Regions from separate parts of the Homo sapiens genome. Here region 2 is linked to region 1. The links are contacts of gene promoters, found by promoter capture Hi-C in blood cells and fetal thymus (Javierre and others, 2016). All regions are on one chromosome and are shown on one strand. The core of a region is centred on a gene start or on the middle of the fragment in contact, and the rest is flanking DNA. Distances in the headings are between cores, read along the strand shown.

Region 1 (5,506 bases), core at 1-2,500:
CTCCTATTGGCCTTGACATCCCTGGAATGCTCCTCTGCTCTCCCAGCTTTCTTCACAGGAAGCTCTATGTTTAGTGTCTGTGCTAGGTTGAAGTTGATGGTGATGATGAGGACCCTGGCATTTTTTCCTGTTTTCAGGAAATACCTAATATTTCCTGGTTAAATCTTTAATATTCTAAAAAGAATGGAAACAGTGCTTTCATTCAATAATTTAAGAGAGCAAATGCCTCTTATTTCCTGATAATGGGCCCTACTATTCTCTTCAGGTCTAAACACTGGTGCCAGACCTGTATTCCGGTGGAGTAGAGAGTAACTCATTGCAGGCTTCTAGGTCATTATACCCTCATGAAGGGGCGACTGAGGTAATGGGGTGAGTAGTCTCCTGTAGGGGCCAGAGTGAAGAGGACAATGACCTTATCAGGGTACAGGTGAAATGAGCTCAGTGAGAGAGATAAAGAGTTGTGTAAGGTTCATGAGTTGCTAGGTGCATACACGTGGTCCTTTCTCTCACAGCATGTAAAAAATCAGCTCAACATGGATTGAAGACTCAACATAGACTTGAAAAGACCTGAAACCATACAACTACGAGAAGCACATACAAAGATAAAGCTTTGGACATTGACGTGAGTAATGATTTCTTGGCTATGACACCAAAGGCACAGGCAATAAACAAATGGGAAAATAGACAAGCGGGGCTGCATTGAACGCTAAAGCATCTTCATAGCAAAGGAAACAATCAACTGAGGGAAACGGCAACCCAGAAAATGAGAGAAAATGTTTGCAAAGCCTACGTGGTAGAAGGGGTAAATATCTGAATACATAAGGAAGTCAAACAACTCAATAGCAAAAAACAAACAACCTGATTGAAAAACAGACCTAGGACCTGCAGAGGCTTCTCTCACAATAAAATAATGTTTTAAGAAGCTGTGATCGTCTTTATTGGACATGTCAAGTAGGACACGTGTGTTTGGAAGGAAACTTTTTGAGTTTCTCTATTGACTTAGCTAGTAGCCATTACCCCCAGCAGCCGCCAGACACCCAGATAGAAGTTCACAGCAGGGGCTTCACCCGCTGGGTCCCTCTGGGGTGGCCCCACAGTGAGAGGTCAGACTGGGGACACAGCTTCAATATTGAAACCTCAATGTGAAAGTTTAAGTTTTGTGTTACTTACAGATCCTCAAGCTAGGCAGGGCGAGCAGAGAGGGCAGACAGCAGTCCTGTGTTCCAGGTCTTATGTAGCAAGAGCAGCCATGCACACAGAGGAGAGGACTTCCTTATTTAAGGGTCTTTTGGTATCAGGTGTCCTAATTTTTCAGGGTTACTTTCTATTGGGTACTTTAAATAACTGTTAACAAGGGCAGTTGAGAAATTTGGCAGAAAGCTGGAGTTCAAGCAGGAGTCCACGGAGGTACCGACCCCTCGTCTACTTTGGTCAGCCCTGGCCAGGCCCAGGCAGCAATCAACTATGGATTCCTCATGACTCCTAAGACAATTGACCCCATGATACCTATGCTGGTGGCTGAGGCTGAACTACCTGGACCGAGGGAATATTTAAAGCCACCAGGAGAGCCTGGCCTGCATATTGTTGTATACACCTTGCGAGGAGACTAGGATCAAAATGCCACCCACACACAGATGAGGATTTGGAATGTGGTCTGAACTGACCTCCCCAGGCCCTGGGGTCTAACCATAAAAACAAATCCAAGCCATTCAGACAAGTAAGGTTGGAGAATACCTGGATGAGACTGAATACCGCCTGGGCTTGTGTTGCTGGATAGGGCAGGTTGCAGGCTCCCGAGTAAAGGATGTGCATATAGCATGTGGTTCCCTAGAGGGGACAGTCACCTTTTTGCTTGGCCTTAGATAGTTCAAGCCTAAATGACTGTCTAGGTCATCCAGGCCAAGGACTCATCAAATGATTGCGTGACACCTAATGTCTGTCAGAAGTCCCTTAGGATGGTGGCCAAAGCTGCAGCGAGATTGGTGTTAGCTTGCATCACCTTGTGTTGTGAGCTCAAATACCCTGTTCCCAAACCAATCCCGTAGGCTTACGAGTCTCCCTACACCCAGAGTTAGGAAGATGGTCACTGGGTGGGGGGGATGCATAAGCTTTCCCTTGTGTGGTCCCTCCTGGGTTATTTGAAGGGGAGTCCCAGGGAGACTAGTGCACATTTTAAAATGTACCACTCTCCACCATCCTCCTCCTTGTAGTGAGGTAAACGGGATGAGGTTTCTGGAAATGAGAAAAGAATGCAGTTGTTCCTGAGGGAATGAATACCTATAGTGAGGTTGCTGAACCCAGTATGCAGTCCAGGCAGCCCCTGCCGCCATGGGAGGGCCGTGCACAGCGCTGGTCCAGCAGGCTGGGTGCTCAGGGCCTCCCCTGCAGCTCTGCGTGAAGGCAGCAGGCACTGGGCTATGGAGGACTGGGGGCAGCGGCGCTCTCAGTCTTAAGGAGGGAAGAGGCATCTCAAGCCTCGCTAGGGGTGGTCGCTGTTCCAGAGCAGTGAAGTCGGCTGCCCCTATGAGGAAGCAGTGAGTTCCTGATCTGTTGCAGGCCCAGCAATTTCACCTTTGGAGGAAGTGGGCACTGGACTCATTCCAGCAGAGGAAGAAATTAGGGCTATTTGGGGAACTGGGCCCCAGATGATGGTTTTAGGTTCTAGGGCATTAGTAGGTGCCTGAAGGGCCCAGTGGATATGGATGTAGAGGCAAAATGAGAAGGGGTGTGTGTGCACGTGGGGAAGGTCTGGTGGTTGTGGGGATGTCCAGTGTCCTGCAGAAGTGAAACCTGGACCAGCCTCCTGCACACAGAACACACTCCAATCCATAGGCATTTTCCTAGTAACATAGGAGAGAGCTGTTATTGGCAGAGCTGGTTAGATTTGGGTGTGATATTATAACAGACAGGTCTTCCAAGTCCATATTTTTTGGCATAACTTGTAGGGCAGCCTCCTGATCTGATCCAAGCCTTGTGGTTTCCTTGCAGTAGGCGGTTTAACTAATGGGTTACACTGAAGACAAATGGGGATCCCAGCAAAATACCATTCTAAGGGGTCATCTGCAGGGTCCTCAGGAAAGCATGAGCTAAGAAAGCACGGGTCCAGGTACTGGACGTGAGCCAACTCCATGTCCCGGGGGTGGTGAGATCCATACCTTGCGGCAGGAAGGAGAGTAAGGTGAGTCTGGTTTGGGGATGACCCCACAGTCAAGATGAGATTCCTTGGTGTCTCTGGTTCTGGTGAGGCCACTGTTTCCCAGGACAAACCCTTGGATCAGAGCACTGTCTTCTGAGGTGATGGCCTTTCGGGTAGGGGTGGCCTTTCCAGCTGGTCACTCAAGAAGAGAGAGGGTATGGGCTGGTGTTGCACAGGCCTCTGGCCTCTGTGGGACTCCATGGAAGCGTTTAGTGAAAGCTTGAGTGGTGCTTTCCTTGGTCGGGGGATAGGACATTTCCATCCACAACTCACATACTTTGGAGCACAGAAGTATCCCTAAGCCCATGAACGTGTTTGAATGCTTTCTCTGCATGTGAGGCTCCAACCTTTCCGGCCACAGACTGAGTTTGTGCTGAGGCATCATTAGCTGGTTTGTATTCATGCCTGGTCATGGGGAGGGCCACCTGCCTCTGATTGTGGGGGTTGCTGGTGTTTAAGCTTTAGTGCCATGGGTCCCATTCAATATCTAAGGATCGGGTTTCCTGGCTTGGATCCAGGTCAGGTGGCATTTGGGGTTTTGCCCCTCTAGCACATTGCCTCAACATGCCACAGTTTTCCAGCCTGGGGTTCAATTTCTCACAGTGGCTGTCCTGTTCCAGCAGCTCTCTGGGATGCCAGGCCCCAGGCCTAAGAGCAGCCGTACAACATTTACATACATAAGATACCCAGCAAGGCCAAAGATAGAGAGCACTGACAGCTTATAACTCAGGGATTTCCTCAAGGTACTTTTACGTCGATATTGATTATGGGGTGGGCTTTCACCAACATTTCTTCAGAGCATTTTTCTGCAATCGACACAGGACATGGTGATGGTAGTTCCATGTGGTCTTTGTCTGATGTAGTTGGCGTCCTCTAGTTTGATGGCTTTTTCTCCTCATTTAGTGACCCAGACTGTACCCTCTTTGGGCTGCAGAGAAACAATCCCCACTTCCTTCAGGGAGGAGTGAGTGGGAGATATTAGCTACCTTTCAAAGCAGGAAGAACTGGAGCTTCTGCTGGAGGCTGTATGTCAAGAGGTGAGGTCTGGTGTAGCAGAAGCATCTTAGGGCTGCTCTGTGGCAGCTGCCTGGACCATCAGTCCCCAGAGGATCACAGCTCACTATCTGTATTAGTCCATTTTCATGCTGCTCATAAAGACCTACCCGAGACTGGGTGATTTATGCAGGAAAGAGATTTCATGGACTCACAGTTCCACATGGCTGGGGAGGCCTCACAATCATGGTAGAAGACAAAAGGAGCAAGTCAAGTCTTACGTGGGTGGCAGCAGGCAAAGAGAGAGCTTCTGCAGGGAAACTCCCTATATAAAACCATCAGATCTTGTGAAACTTATTCACTACCATGAGAACAGCATGGGAAAGACCTGCCTCCATGATTCAATTACCTCCCACCAGGTCCCTCCAACACATAGGAATTCAAGATGACATTTGGGTGGGAACACAGCCAAACCCTATCACTGTCCATCCTCGATCGAGTCTTTAGTAAATGTTTGATGCTGAGACAGTGGACATCTTGTGATGGTATGAGGGGGTCTCATTATTGCAGAAAATGTGGGTGATGGTATCCATAAGGGAAAAAGAGCTCAACTCTTCTGTGATCACCAGGGTGGGTGCCATGGTTGGTCTGGTCCAATTGTAGAAGAGCTGGTGGCCATGGTGTTGAGAATTAAGATAGTTAAGGCTCTCAAAGGAGCTTGGTTCCCTTGATGAACCACTTGTAGGGGGACTGGAGCCTTTCCTAATTTGACTTAGTCTGTGCTCATGCCACAACTTTAATAAGCATGACTTTAGGAGGCCACTGTGTTGCTTGAGGAGGCCAGTGGCTAAGTGAGGGTCCCCTAACCCCCATGCTGAGTTGCCCAGCACCACCCTGAAGTGGGAGCCCTGATCTGCATCAGTGATATCTGGTGGTTCACAAGAGGTAATAGAGCAAATGTCACAGAAAGAGAGCACCTTTCTCTACCAAGAGCCTTGGGTTGGAAGAGTCAATGGAAGTGCGGTGGATGTGTGTCTGCTCCTGCACAGCAGAAGGTGGTGGCTGTGATGGGAGAGGCCCAGTGAAGTCCATTTGCCACCAGCTGAAAGGGTGATGGCCCAGGAACAAGGGATTGCTGGCCACAGTTTTGCTTGCCTGAAGCTATGGTGGGAGACAGCTGTGGTGTGGGTTGCCCTCTAATGTGGCTGTAGCTCTCATGATCTGGGGCTGTAGGACTCCACTCTGTCAGCACCTGAGGAATACAGAACTTGAGATTCTGGAGTCTGTAAAAATAAGAGGATCTCACCCAAGCCCTGG
Region 2 (5,506 bases), core at 1,103-3,602, 510 kb before region 1:
AAGAATGGTTAAGAGAAAAAAAAAATTCAAATGTTTACTATTTCATGATATTTACATTATATGAAATTCAATTTTAGTATCCATAAATACCGTTTTATTGGAACACAGGCATGTTCATCTGACGATGTAGTCAGTGGCTGCCTCTGTACTACAGCTGTAGATTTGGATCCTGTGGCAGAGACCTTACGGCCCACGAAGCCTAAGGCATTCACTACTTTCCCCTTTACAGAAGTTTGCTGACCCAGGTCCAGTGTGCTGCATGATGGTCCCCTTCCCTTCCATTGTCAGCTGCTCCCCTCTCCCTTGTTTGCGTCTTCCAAATGCTCTGGGCTTCCACGTCCCCAAGGCTACACTCTTTCTGCCTTTAGTTCTTGGCCTGTGCTGAGAACTCTGCCCCGTCTTCCTGATTCTAAACCCAGTTTTGTAGTCAGCTCCTTTATACATGTTGCATTGCAAGGTCGCTTTATCAGAAGAGCTTCCTCTGTCCCCAGTTCACAGTTCAAGCCCTATTTGTTATTCTCTGTCTCAGCTCCTTTTTTCCTGTGTGTACTATTAAAACTTATTTTGTTCATTTGACTGCTTTATCTGTCTGTGTATCTAATCATGCATTTTGTCTTTCTATTGTAATGTGGATTCCAAGAGCAGCTACCTGTCTGTCTTATTTATGGTTGTGTTTCTAGTAAGTCTAACATTCATCTGGCTCATAGTAGATGCTCAGTAAATATTTGTTCTAACAAATTATGAACAAAGGAAAATTTAGTTAAGTGGCGTAGAGATACTAGAGAAAATATCATGGGGGAAAATGATTTGAAAAAAAACTACATTTTAAAAGTCGTATAGAAATGTGGAGGGGAGAGTGCAGAAACAGAGACCTTTACTAGAAGCTTGAAGTAAATGGAGATGCATGGACAAAATTAAAATAGTAGCCATTTCTGTACCTAATAGGGCCTCTCAGCTAACCCTACAATGGGGATGGTCACTGGTAGTGTGTTCTGCTGAGAGTTAGGGATTCTTACTCTGCTTTGCTGGCCCAGCCCCTGACTCATTCTCTATCCCCTTTCTCTCTCTCTCTATTTCTGCCCACCACTAACCCCAGCCTTTCTCAAGGGGCTCATGCAGACCCCATAATACTTGTAACTTCGTTATCCAAAAGCAAAGTTTTCTTTTTCTTTTCTGGAGACTGAGTCTCACTCTCTTGCCCAAGCTGGAGTGCAGTGGTGCGATCTCGGCTTACTGCAACCTCCGCCTCCTGGGTTCATGCCATTCTCCTGCCTCAGCCTCCCGAGTAGCTGGGACTACCGGAGCCCGCCACCACGCCCGGCTAATTTTTTGTGGTTTTAGTAGAGACGGGGTTTCACTGTGTTAGCCAGGATGGTCTCGATCTCCTGACCTTGTGATCCGCCCTCCTCGGTCTCCCAAAGTGCTAGGATTACAGGCGTGAGCCACTGTGCCCGGCCAATTTTTATATTTTTAGGAGAGACAGGGTTTCACCATGTTGGCCAGGCTGGTTTAACTCCTGACCTCAGGTGATCCGCCCACCTTGGCCTCCCAAAGTGCTAGGATTACAGGTAAGAGCCACCGTGCCTGGCAAAAGCACACTTTTAAGGTCCTCAGAAGCTCAAAAGTGAACTTAATCTTTTGGCATTTTTCTTTTCTTTTCTTTTTTTTTTTTTTTTTGAAACTGAGTCTCGCTCTGTCGCCCAGGCTGGAGTGCAGTGGTGCAATCTTGGCTCACTGCATTCTCCTGCCTCAGCCTCCTGAGTAGCTGGGACTACAGGCGCCCGCCACCACGCCTGGCTAATTTTTTTGTATTTTTAGTAGAGACGGGGTTTCACCGTGTTAGCCAGGATGGTCTCCATCTCCTGATCTTGTGATCCGCCCGCCTCGGCCTCCCAAAGTGCTGGGATTACTGGCATGAGCCCCTGCGCCCGGCCCATACACTTTAGTCAACTTTTTATTACAGGTCATTTTTTTGCCTGTACATGCAGATGCATCCCACTTTATATATATAAGAATATTTTGTAGTAGCTGTCCAGTAATTTATGTAAGCAGTGTCCTATTGGTGATTGAAGTTTTTCATTTCTTAGTTATTTTTTTCAATTAGAAATATTACAGCATTGAGCTTCTGTATGTATTACCTTTTTGCGGGTGATAAATCTTTCCATAGGTTTAAATCCCCAAAGTGGGCTGTTCATTTCTGAGAGTTTACATATTTAAATATGATAGATGCTGCCAAATTATCTTCTGGAAGGAGTGTACTGGTTTCCATTCTCACTGGAATTATCAAAAAAATGCATGTTTCCCAATACCTTTGCTAATGTTGTGAGTTATCAGTTCTTCTTTCTAATTTGTAGAAGAAAAATAATAGTTTTTATTTGCATTTCTCTGACTTTTAGTGAGCTTGAATTTTCTTCAGCAGAGCATAGAGATAAGAGCCAAACTGACCTGCATTTTTTATGTCACGTCTGTCCTTTCTTGGTGAACTGCCTGCCTTTCCAATGCAGTAGCTCATGGTTTCCACTGAAAATGTGAACATTAACTTCATAAGGTCACTAGGTGTCACTAGAATCCCATTCTGTTGGGTTCCTTCTGGGAGTGTTCATTTTAAGATCAGATGGCAATTGATAAAATTCTGACATTTCCTTTGGATGTAGAAATTTTTACCTTGAAGAAAGAATACATAAAGTTGAAATAAAGGTCAGCTTGGCCCCCACTCTAAGTTCTGTTGAAGACAATTTATCATTTTTAAACAACTGCAAACTAACAGCTAGGTGGGGAATACGGTTCACAGGCTTTGTCCTTGCTAGGCTGAGAGTTGGTTGCTGACCGAAGGCCATCACCCCCTGCATTTAGTGTTTGCTGGAAACAGGGACATATTCCTGCATAACCACAACACAGGCCGACATTAGGGGCTTACCACGGCTCCTTTCCTCCCGGAATCCTCAGACTCCATTCCTATCCTACCAGCAGCCAGCTCCACTTCCCGCCTCCTCAGCCTTCTCACCCTGCAGCCATTCCTTAGTCTTTCACTGGCTTTTGTGACTTTGACACTGTTTAAGGTCACTGACCAGTGATAGGAACGTCCCTCAGTTTGGAACGGTCTGATGTGTCCTCCTAATATCACATCAATGTGTAACAGTGGATGTGTAGCCATTTAGGACTGGGCAAATTACTCAACTGCTGGGCTCTAGGTTCCTCCAGTAGCTCCTGAGTTAACTTCCTACGGTTATTTAGTGCTAGACCACAGAAGTTCGCTCTCTGCTGGCAGAGCACTGTTGTGCAGACTTCTCTGAGTCTCCTGTGTTCTTCCTTGTGTGTCAGGGACACACGTGAAGGATAGCGTGCTTCGCGGCTGGAATCTTCAAGGAGATGCCATTCACTTTTTTACCTCACTAACACAGTGCCGTTTACAAAAAAGATTAATGTACTTTTCCTGAATTGACTTACTGACTGGGCCTAGAGAATAAGATACTGGTGCTGGGCAGTTTGGCACAAGAGTAGCATAAAGAATGCAGGATTGGCCCAGGTGAAGGCATCGTCCTAAGGGTAGAATGAGAGTCGGTGGTTCCTGGCCGACCTAGCAGGTGTACTGTGGGAAGTGCTGGAGTGAATCGGCTCTCTGGGGAGAATAAGCTCATCACAGCACGGCTTCCCGAGGAGAACGTTGCTGCTTTGATTTCTGTTGGCTCTGAGGCAGCAGCAGGTCAAATAGTTGGTTCTCTGTTTAGAGACATCTCTTGAAACACTTTTCGTTTTGACCACTAGATGGTGGGATAATGTTATCATTTTACATTTCTGAAGAAAAATAGAAATCTAACTGGAAGCTTTTTTGTCTGTTCAGTAGATTTTGGTTGGACCCCTGGTAAACATGGGTTTCAGTGTAGCAGCTTTAATGTGTTACCACGTGTGCTAAAGCATAGCTGTTGGCATGCAGAACGGCATTACCAGCAGTAAGTGCCACTTACTTCTTCATAGTGAGTGATGATAGTTACACCCAGGTAGATGAAATTCAGGGAGAGCATCTCTGTGCACCTTACATCTTATCACTCTGAAGGATATGTGGTTGGGAAGCTTCTCCCAAAGGAACAGAACACATCTTCCACAACTGTATAACCTATGTCAGGCACACGTTTTCCTGGGTTGAATCAAGCCCTTCCTTAAACTGCTAACTTAAAGAATACTTACTGGTTTTGTAAAGTTTGGCAAATGATCTTCTCTGCTCCTCGGTTTTCTGTGTTGTGCAATAGGAGGCAATGGTAGTGGCTTTTCCAGCACGGTTGGTGTGAGGCTTCTCATGAGCTGGGTGACCTTTGTCCTGATGATGGTGGTGATTTTAATACTGTGTATTTGATAACACGATTATCTAGGGTCTCCTCTACGTCTTTCGTCCAGATGCATCTCAGCCACCCCCCTTTTGCTGTTCCCTTAGGCATAATAGTGGTAAATCGGTGACATTTTGCTTGAGTAAGAAGAAGCTGCTAAAAACTTCTCATGCTTAAAATTGGTAATTAAGGGGACTTTTTAAAAAGAAGCACAGTTAAAAAACATTTCCTTCCTCGTTCTCTTCCACCCGCCTCCCTTTCCCATCACTTTTATTAGATACAGCATTCTGCTCACCCCATTATTGCAGGCTCAGATAGTTGGTTTGTTTTTTTAAAATCAGCTTTATAAAAACATTTACATAAAATAAAATGGACCCATTTTAAGTGTACATTCACGGGTTTTTTGTGTATACCTGTGTCACCACCACAACCAAAATACAGAGCATTTTCATCACCCCAAAATCTCCTTCGTGTCCATTTGCTGTCGGCCTCCCTGCCCCCTCCTCCCACCCCAGGGCAGCCACAGATCTGGTTTCTGTCATTAAAGATTAGTGTCACCAATTCTGGGGCTTCAGATCAGTGGAATCATCCAGCGTGTACTATTTTGTGCCTGACATCACTGAAGGTGATGTTTTTGCGATCTGTCCGTGTTGTTTGTAGCAGTGGTTTCACTTCCTTTTATAGCTGAGTAGTATTCTATTGTAGGCATGTAGCTTGGTGCCACCAGTTGATGGAGATTGGGCTAGTTTGCCATTTTAGGTTATTATGAATAAAGTTACAATGGACATTTACATTTGTGTCTTTGTATGCTTTCATTTCTCTTGGGTCATTACCCAAACTTTTCCAAGGTGGTTATGGCACTGTATATTCCCACCAGCAGTGTTCCTTTCACTCCACGTCTTCACCAATAGTTGAAATTTATCCATCTTTTGAATTTTAGCCATTCAAGCAGATGTGTAGTGGTATTTCATGGTTTTTTTTTTCCCAACATTGTTTTAAGATCTAATTCATATGCTACACAATTTGTCCAATTAAAGTATACAATTCAGTGGTTTTAAATATACAGTCAGGTATTGCTTGACGACAGGGATGCCTTCTGAGAAACGAATAGGTGATTTTGTTGTTGTGGAGACATCACAGTGTGTATTAACACACACCTGCATGACATAGCTACTGCACACCTA

Evidence for each region. The method cuts DNA at HindIII sites, captures the fragments that hold promoters and counts their contacts. A CHiCAGO score of 5 or more calls a contact.
Region 2: a contact is called between a fragment that was not itself captured here and the fragment with the promoter of DEFA4 in region 1, in 1 of 17 cell types (fetal thymus). The highest score is 5.4, in fetal thymus.

Annotation. Positions count from the first base shown.
Region 1 is chr8:6,937,056-6,942,561 of GRCh38, forward strand. DEFA4 (defensin alpha 4) reads right to left here and starts at 1,251. Exons shown (of 3, transcript NM_001925.3): 1 at 1,171-1,251. RefSeq lists a silencer at 987-1,056. The HindIII fragment of the contact is 1,500 bases long and covers 607-2,106 here.
Region 2 is chr8:6,421,531-6,427,036 of GRCh38, forward strand. The region is part of intron 3 of MCPH1 (microcephalin 1); the gene reads left to right. Among named protein-coding and RNA genes, the nearest start is that of MCPH1, 18 kb to the left of the region's middle. The HindIII fragment of the contact is 2,940 bases long and covers 883-3,822 here.